3 separate regions of the Homo sapiens genome follow, and all the other regions are linked to region 1. Evidence: promoter capture Hi-C in 16 types of primary human blood cells and fetal thymus (Javierre and others, 2016). All regions are on one chromosome and are shown on one strand. The core of a region is centred on a gene start or on the middle of the fragment in contact, and the rest is flanking DNA. Distances in the headings are between cores, read along the strand shown. Region 1 holds the start of LYN (LYN proto-oncogene, Src family tyrosine kinase). Region 2 has its middle 29 kb from the start of MRPL15. Region 3 overlaps MRPL15 (mitochondrial ribosomal protein L15).

The links. Contacts are between HindIII fragments. The CHiCAGO score rates a contact against its expected background, and 5 or more counts as called.
Region 2: a fragment that was not itself captured here is called in contact with the fragment with the promoter of LYN in region 1 in 1 of 17 cell types (M0 macrophages); the score reaches 5.8 in M0 macrophages.
Region 3: a contact is called between a fragment that was not itself captured here and the fragment with the promoter of LYN in region 1, in 1 of 17 cell types (total B cells). The highest score is 5.6, in total B cells.

What each region holds. Positions count from the first base shown.
Region 1 is chr8:55,878,388-55,881,473 of GRCh38, forward strand. It overlaps LYN (LYN proto-oncogene, Src family tyrosine kinase), which reads left to right and starts at 1,448. Exons shown (of 13, transcript NM_002350.4): 1 at 1,448-1,716. RefSeq lists enhancers at 542-631, 1,192-1,251 and silencers at 1,402-1,461, 1,482-1,651, 1,732-2,021, 2,052-2,231. The HindIII fragment of the contact is 13,046 bases long and covers 1-3,073 here.
Region 2 is chr8:54,163,176-54,166,203 of GRCh38, forward strand. No RefSeq gene overlaps it. Among named protein-coding and RNA genes, the nearest start is that of MRPL15, 29 kb to the left of the region's middle. RefSeq lists an enhancer at 2,492-2,541. The HindIII fragment of the contact is 2,721 bases long and covers 70-2,790 here.
Region 3 is chr8:54,145,455-54,148,460 of GRCh38, forward strand. It overlaps MRPL15 (mitochondrial ribosomal protein L15), which reads left to right. Exons shown (of 5, transcript NM_014175.4): 5 at 1,928-3,006. The coding sequence ends at 2,265. Among named protein-coding and RNA genes, the nearest start is that of MRPL15, 12 kb to the left of the region's middle. The HindIII fragment of the contact is 4,802 bases long and covers 1-3,006 here.

The DNA.
Region 1 (3,086 bases), core at 198-2,697:
ATAGATTAACCAATACCAAACGTTTTTGAATCCTATTCTTATTTGCCACACACGTTTAGTCAGGATCTCAAGGATTCATCAGTAGCAGCAGAAACTTTAATGTAGGGTTAATATATTTGAGAGGTCATTCTTAAGAAAAGTCTAGGCAATAGGCCCTCAGGTAGTGAATTATTCTGTAGGATTCATTGTTTTTTGTTTCATTTTGTTTTGTTTTGTTCTTTTTTCATTTTTCTATTTTTCTCCATAGGATTCTTGATAGGTTTCAATCACACACCTTCCCATGGGTATTTCCATGGGCAACCCACCCCTTCTCTTCAGCAGTAAACTAACAACTACATACCAGTGAACATCACAGGTATAAACCACCTTTCTTCTTTTAAGGAATTAGTATGCAAACTTTAGTACTCTTTTCCTAGTAACAAATAACTGCTGTATCAGATTGTGTCACAAGGCAGCTGCTTTGACTTATTGCTCTGTAGCTGGGGTCAGCCTCTTCAGAACATTGTTAATGAGAGAAAGGAAGTGCTTTGGGCAGTGTCTGGCCCATCAGGCCCTCTGTAAATGTTTGCTATTAATGCAATGCTGAGATCCCAGTGAACAGAATCTGGCTTAGAAGAAGTGGGTATCCACGGTGCCCGAGCCTAATCTTACATCTTGGATTTGTAAGTGGCATTTATTGAGTTGAACATGAGCTTGAGCACGCGGTCACACATTCTTTCAGCAAACACTGGTTAGGCACCAGCTGCTACGTGCAAGCACTGCCCTACATGCTGGGACGCAGCTGTAGTAGGAATGAAATAACGCCAGCATTCCTGCATGCGGGCAGTGCGGGCCCTGTACAGAAAGGTACACGAGATAGGCATCCTCACATCCATTGTCCTGGGAGGAAACTGAGGCTTTGAGAAACGGAGAACTTGCCGGGCCATTTGACTCTACGTCATCCCCTCCCCCATCAATGCCCTGAACAGCCTCCTGTACACCCTTAAGGAACTTACTTTGTAATGATTATTAAGAACTCAGCGAGACCCCGAGCATCACCTCGGCATATCGCATCCTTTCTCTAGAGAACCCCTAATGTTGGAAGGGATCAGAGCGCACCTCCTCCGCTCCTGGGAGCACCCCCTTCCTAATAATACCTTGGGGATGGGTCGGAAGGAAAGGAAAGGAGACGCGAGAGGTGTAGTCGATGTGCCTGCGAAGCCCAGGCTCCTCTGGAGATCCTTCCGTCCGTCCCTACAGGAGAAGGCTGGCCCGGGCTGCTCCACTCCCCGGAGCTGCAGACTGAGTCGCCAGGTTTCTGTGCCTTCAAAGCCCTGCGCGACGGCCACACCAAACACCCAAACCTTGGGCAGGGACCAAACGGTCACTTCCCCGCCCTCCGGGCTCAATATGCAAATCCGAGCACCAGGAAGTAGCTGGGACCTCTCGGCCGAGCCCAGAGACAGCCAGTTCCTCTCCCGCCGCGCCGGGCCGCGCTGCCGCTCGCTCCCCGGCCGTGGCGCCTCCGGGCCAGACGCGCTGCAGCCTCCAGCCCGCGGCAAGCGGGGCGGCCGCGCCACCCCCGGCCCCGCGCCAGCAGCCCCTCGCCGCGCGTCCAGCGTTCCCGGCCAGCAGCCTCCCCATACGCAGGTCCTGCTGGGCCGCCCCGTCGCGCCCCCCACTCTGAACTCAAGTCACCGTGGAGCTCCGCCGCCCCGAAACTTTCACCGCGAGCGGGTGAGTCCTCTGCGCGAGCCCAGGGGTGGGCGCGGGCACGCGGGCAGTGGGTGCAGGGGCCGCGGCTGTGCCACCAGCCGGAGTCCCGGGCGCAGGGTAGACTCGGGGCCGGGGGCATCGGCGCGGCCCGCGGCGGCTTCCTGGCCGCACCGCCTCTGGGCTCCGGCGGCGAAGGCTCTTAGATGTCTTCAGCCGACGGGTGACCGGGCCCGGGGGAGCCAGGGCGCGGGGACTGAGGCTCCGCAGGTGTCCGCCGCGGAGCCGCGCAGGGGAGCGGTGGGAGGTGCGGGCGCGGGGGCGGGCTCACCGCGTGTCCTTCCCGGTGAGGGCCCGAGGGCCGGCTGCTGTCCCTGCTCCGGCCGCTTCTCGCACACAGTGGGGAAGCCGCTGCCCTTGCGGAGCGGGCGCGCGGCGGGGATACTGGAGAGGACTCCTCGGATTGTGCAATCTGATCTCCCCTCTGGACCCTGGGTCTCCTGGCAGTGGGAGATGGGGCTCGGCCGGCGCCCTCTCGAGGCCCGCGGACAGTTGCCCTCCCTGGTGGCCCCGGGCAGGAGCGTGACGTCGAGGGGCTGCAGCGGAGGCTGGAACTCACCCTCCCGCTGCGGCGCCTCTCGGCCTGCCGAGGAGCAGTCCGGTGCTTTTGCCGGCTGAGAGGAAGCGAGAGTTATTTTAAGAATTCAGGGGTTGCCTTTCCTTCGCCTTGGGGGAAGGGCGTAAGAGTCAGTTCCCACTTTCCTGCATTCTCTGGGCCCATGGTGGCATCTTTTGCTTGCGGTGCATTCGTAACTTTCCAACAGCCTGCCTGTCATGTGGATTAGCGGTTGTGTTTTTGTATATCCGAGTGTGTTAATTATCCCAAATTCGCCCTTCTTCGCCAGCTCAGAATCTAGGCCTTGCACTTTTCTGGCTGTATATTTAGGGGACCGATTATTGAAATTCCCTGTTTGAGTTTCTTCATCTTTGAGAGAGCATATATACCTCAGGGGCTGTTTAGTACACACAAAGCCCCTAGTACGTACCAAGCATTTCATAAACGATGTTACTGTTATTTATTGCAGTGAATTCTATTCATATAAATGAGGCTTCTTGGTTCTTTGCAGCTTGGTGATGTTGAAGCTAAGACTACCATGTCAGATTTAGCCATCTGACCTTATTAGTAAATCTGCTTAATAAATACATGAGGGATTTGCTGTCCCAAAGCAGGGCCCAGTAGTCTGACTTTCCCTAAAGAACTAGCCAATAAACTGGTGGGCTACAGGGATGTTTTCTCTGTACAGCCAACACCTAAAGCCATGCCCTGGGGAATAGGCACTGCAAGAACCCAGGCCTTACTAAGCCCTTCTCTGTAAGAGTAAGCTTTGTTGGGA
Region 2 (3,028 bases), core at 180-2,679, 1.7 Mb before region 1:
TTCCATACAAATTTGAGAATCACCTTGCCAATTTCTGCAAAAATGGCAGCTTGCATTTTGATAAATGCAAGCTTTAAATTTGTAGATCAATTCAGAGAATATGGCTATTTTAACAATACTAAGTCTTCTAGCCAGACATGGTGGCTCACTTCTGTAATTCCAGCACTTTGGGAGACCAAAGTGGGAGGATCACTTAAGCCCAGGGGTTTGGGACCAGCCTAGGCAACATAGTGAAACTCCATCTTTACAAAAAAGTAAAAAATAAAAAATTAGCTGGTGGAACATGCCTATAGTCTCAGGTACCTGAGGGACAGGCAGAGGCTAAGGTGAATCCCTTGAGCCCTGGAGGTTGAGGCTGCAGTGAGCCATGATTGTGCCACTGTACTCCACCTTGAGTGACAAAGTGAGACCATGTCTCAAAAAAAAAAGTCGTCTAATCCATGAACATGGGCTATCTCTTATCAGTATGTGTTTTTGTCTTTTATTCTATTAATTTGGTGTATTACATTGATAGATTTTCAGATATTAAACCAACCTTGTATACCTGGGATAAATTCCACTTGGTCATAGTATATAATCCTCTTTTATATGTTGCTGAATTTGGATTGCTTGTATTTTGTTGAGTTTTGCATGTATCATTTAAAATATATTTGTAGTTTTTTGTGATGTCTTTGGTATCAGTGTTATACTAGGCAAATAGAATGATTTCGAAGTGTTTCCTCCTCTTTTTTTTTTTGAAGAATTTTTGAAGAATTGGCATTAATTCTTTAAATATTTGGTAGAATTCACCAGTGAAGTCATCTGACCCTGGGCTATTCTTTGTGGGAAGTTTTTGATTAATAATTCTCTTGTTATACATCTTTTCAGATTTTCTATTCTTTTTTATTTCTCTTTTTTTCTGTGATTTTCTACTCTTCTTGAGTCTGTTTTTGTAGTTTGTGTCTGTCAAGTAATTTATCCATTTCAACTAGGTTATCTAATTGGTTGGCACACAATTTTTCACAGTGTTCTCTTTATTTTTATTATTTTATTTTATTTTTGAGACAGAAATGTGCTCTGTCACCCAGGCTGGAGTGCAAGTGGCATGATCTGGGATCACTGCAACCTCTGCCTCCCGGGTTCCAGCCATCCTTCTGCCTCAGCCTCCCGAGTAGCTGGGACTGCATGCATGCACCACCATGCCCAGCTAATTTTTGTATTTTTAGTAGAGATGGAGTTTCACCATGTTGGTTAGGCTGGTCACAGTGTTCTCTTATAATTCTTTTATTTATTTTTTATATTTCTTGAGACAGGATCTCACTCTGGTTGTCCAGGCTGGAGTGCAGTGGTGCCATCTCAGCTCACTGCAGCCTAAACCTCCTGGGCTCAGGTGATCCTCCCACCTCAGCTTCTCGAGTAGCTGGGACTATGGGCAAGCATCACCATGACTTGCTAATTTTTTGTATTTTTAATAGAGGTGAGGTTTCACAATGTGTCCCAGGCTGGTCTCAAACTCCTGGACTCAAGCAATCCACCAGCCTCGGCCTCTCATGGTGCTGGGATTACAGGTGTAAGCCACCATGCCAGGCCTGTTATAAGCCTTTTTTATTTTGGGTTGGGACTGTTGTCTTATTCATTTCTGATTTAGTCATTTGCTCTGCACGTGGTAAAAGATACCTTTTATATTACCATAAGAATATTTATAAACCAAAACTTTAAAATATTTCAATTTTTTAAAATTTGAGACAGAGTCTCGCTCTGTCGTCCAAGCTGGAGTGCAGTGGTGTGATCTTGGCTTACTGCAACCTCTGCCTCCTGGGTTCAAGCAATTCTCCCACCTTAGCCTCTCGAGTAGCTGGGATTGCAGGCACATGCCACCACCCCTGGCTAACTTTTGTATTTTTAGTAGAGATGGGGTTTCTCCATGTTGGCCAGGCTGGTCTTGAACTCCTGGCCTCAAGCAATCCACCTGCCTCGGCCTTCCAAAGTGCTTGAATTATAGGCATGAGTCACCGTGCCCTCCCCAAAACATTTTTTTTAATGTAAAGAAACTTACATTTAAAATAAAACTAGAATAGTAGACATACTATGTGCAAATGCCATAAATTGACATCCAGTCTGCCAACATAAGGATTCTATACATTTTTCTTGTGTACTTTCTGTAAGTCCTAAACATTTTCCTTCACAGTGCCTTCTCATATCAAGCAGAGGTTTGTGGTTATTTCTCTTCCCTGACTTCAATATTACATTGACATCAAATCATCACTCAACTGATTTTAAGATGAAAGACCACTGGTTTGGAGGACTAAGATTTATAATGCAGCAGGTGTTATAAACTGCTGACTGTCTTAAATATAAGGAGTGACTCTGGCCCAGAGAAATTCCTGGGGAGGCTGGGTCTCTTTTTATTGCTTCTCCCGTATGTAGGTGGGACAGTTCTCAGGAGGGATTGGGTCATTGTTCTGTGTACAAAAGTTGCTGGAGGCAGAGGTAGAAATTTGCTGTCTTGCACAGGGAGATGTGACAGAGAATTTTAGGCCATAGCCCAGTCCAGCCAGCTGTAGCTCAGTGTTGCTGATAGCGAGCCTAGTTCCTCTCTGGAGTCACATTGGTCAGAATAACCTGACACTGGGAAAGGAGTTATTCTAATGCATACTTATTGCTTCCTATTAATACCGTATGTAGCATCTCTGCAATTTTATTGCATTAACTGGAGAATGAGAAAGTGTTAGCTGCTGCTGGATATTGTCCGGAGTTAGAGAAGCTGCCATTATATTCCCCTCATGACTCGCCGCTGGCCCCTGCTGTCGAAGCTTCGCTGTGGCTTCACTCTCAGGGCGTGTATCTGCCATCACTGCCTGCATGCTGATAGCCTGGGACACACTATTGCACACCAAGCGCCTTTGAGCAGGCACTTGTCTCACTTTTCTCAAATGCTGAGTTGAAGGGGTGTCCACGCCTTTTTCCTCATTGAGCCAGTAGTCTCTTGGTTACTTGTATGCAGTAGTTATCGAGAGTGAAATGCTGACTTCTGCTTTGACAGACTAGA
Region 3 (3,006 bases), core at 162-2,661, 1.7 Mb before region 1:
TTGGTGTGAGCCACCATGCCGGGCCAGAAATTTTTTTTTTTTCTTTTCATTTGAGATGGTCTTGCTCTCTCAGGCTAGAGTGCAGTTCCACTCACTGCAATCTGAAACTCCTGAGCTCAAGAAATCCTGCCACCTAGGCCCCCTGAGTAACTGGGACTACAGGTGCATGTCACCATGCTAACTTTTTTTTGTTTTATGTTTTGTAGAGATGAGGTCTCACTATGTTGCTCAGGCTGGTCTTGAACTCCTGCGCTCAAGCAATTCTCCTACCTCCCAAGGTGCTGGCATTAAAAGCATGAGCCATTGTGCCTGGTCTACAAATTTCTTTCTTAAATATATTTTGAAGATACTTTCTTGATGATTCAAGGACATCCACTATTTACTTACCCTCTGTTGTAGGTGAAGTAGGTAGGATGGTTTATCCAGAGCATGACCTGGCTTTAGGTGGCTCTGCTTTATAATTCTTGGTCTCGACCCTTAGCAGATAGCTTCCAGTTCTCATTTCTGTGAGTGGCCTGCCTGGAGTACCTCCTAATCACCATTTCTCATTTGCCCTGTGTGGAGATACTGCTAGGTGATGCAATATATTAGAGCTGTATAAAACAGCTGTCAGATTCTTGCATTCAGCAAACAGCCAGAGGCTAGTGTTTGCTAGATACTGTTCCAGCTGATGGAGAGACGATAGTGCAAGAGTCAAAAGTCCTTTCCTGGCCGGGCGCAGTGGCCTCACGCCTGTAATCCCAGCACTTTGGGAGGCCAAGTGAAGTGGATCACCTGAGTTCAGGAGTTCAAGACCAGCCTGGCCAACATGGCAAAACCCCATCTCTACTAAAAATACAAAAATTAGCTGAGCATGGTGGTGCATGCCTGTAATCCCAGCTACTTGGGAGGTTGAGGCAGGAGAATCACTTGAGTCTGGGAGGCAGAGGTTGCAGTGAGCCGAGATCATGCCACTGTACTCTAGCCTGGGCGACAGAGCGAGACTTTGTCTCAAAAAAAAAAAAAAAAAAGTCCCTTCCTTCACAGAGCTTACGCCCTGGTGGGTGATAGTTAACATCTGTCTCATTGTATACCAAATACTATACATGTGTGAATGGATTCTGTGGATTACATCAGGTAAACTTTGTAACTGCTCTGTGACATATGTACTATTATTTTGAGGTTCTCAGTAATTTCCTTAGTACTGTTTTGATTTCTGTAACCAGCTTTGGTTAAGGTTGCATTGCTAACACGATGAGTAGAGTGTCAGTTGTATTCATACAGTTATCTATTTGTGTAATTGCTTTCTAAGCTATCTAAAGGCCCTGTGGCATCTGTGATATCTTGTGCGTAGGCCTTTTTTTCACTATCTCACTTTCAGAACATGTGTCTCGGGTCCTTTAAAATGTTTGAAAACAGAACTGGGGTTATGCAGCATTCCTTGGTTTGTTTCACATAAGATTTCTTTGCCTGCTCTTTAGTTAAGATAACTCATTTTAGTAAAATTGGTTTTCCAGATACAGGTATGGTTGCTCATGCCTGTAATCCCAGCACTTTGGGAGGCCCAGGTGGGTGGATCACCTGAGGTCAAGAGTTCCAGACCAGCCTGACCAACATGGTCAAACCCCGTCTCTACTAAAAATACAAAATGATCCGGGCGTGGCGGCATGTGCCTCTAATCCCAGCTACTTGGGAGGCTGAGGCAGGAGAATTGCTTGAACCCATGAGGCAGAGGTTGCAGTGAGCCGAGATGGTGCCATTGTACTCCAGTCTGGGCAACAAGAGTGAAACTGCGTCTCAAAAAAAAAATAATAAAAATTAATAATCAAGAGAAACTCTGTAACATCTCTATGGTACAGAGTTACATCTCTATGTTAGAGTTACATCTCTAGGTATGTCTATGAGCTAATATTTGCATCTCACTTTTTAAATTTAAATTTTCTTTTAGACATTGTATGCAAACCTGTTCCATTCTTTCTTCGTGGACAACCCATTCCAAAAAGAATGCTTCCACCAGAAGAACTGGTACCATATTACACTGATGCAAAGAACCGTGGGTACCTGGCGGATCCTGCCAAATTTCCTGAAGCACGACTTGAACTCGCCAGGAAGTATGGTTATATCTTACCTGATATCACTAAAGATGAACTCTTCAAAATGCTCTGTACTAGGAAGGATCCAAGGCAGATTTTCTTTGGTCTTGCTCCAGGATGGGTGGTGAATATGGCCGATAAGAAAATCCTAAAACCTACAGATGAAAATCTCCTTAAGTATTATACCTCATGAATTCCCGTCCAAGGAAGCAGAGTTGTTAAAGAGTACTGGAATAGGGGCTGAAGGATCTATATTCCCTTATTGCATTTTCCTTATGTATAATTTTCCAGATGGTGATGTTACTTTTCAGTGTACTCATATGTCTCATTTTCATCTAAAATTAAATGGCAGGAAACAAGGACTGCATAGAGAAACTGAGTCTGTGTGGGTTCTGTCTCAAAGATACAAACTCCCTGATAGTCTATGGAAGGAAAATGACAACTATTTTAGAATATTTCTAGTTTGTTTTTTCAGTGATCTTTTCATCCAGGCCTTGTTACTGTTACAGATCAGAATGAAATGCACAAGTGGAATGGGATTGACCTGTAGGCCTGCTCTGCCGAGATGAGAGCAGATGGAATGAGTTGGTGACCCCTCTTAATCTGTAGCCTCAGGGAAACACGGCTACCCAATGCCAAGATGGTAAACCCTCAACTCGAAGAGTAAGATCAGGACGTATGCTTAAGGTGTAAGGCTGAGGAGTAGCTGGTAGGCAGTATGTTTGCCAGTGACATTGAAGGTGAGAGAAACAAAAATTACAAATGAATTTATTTTCTCAATTCTGTGGTAGAAGTGTTACAGGCAGGCCTTTGTTCTTAGAGCTCCCAAGATGGTGGTGGCCACTCCCAAGATGGCAGCAAGCCTTTTGTTCTCTGACCTGGGGTTCTTGGCCTCACGGATTCCAAAGAATGGAACCTTGGGCCATGTGGTCAG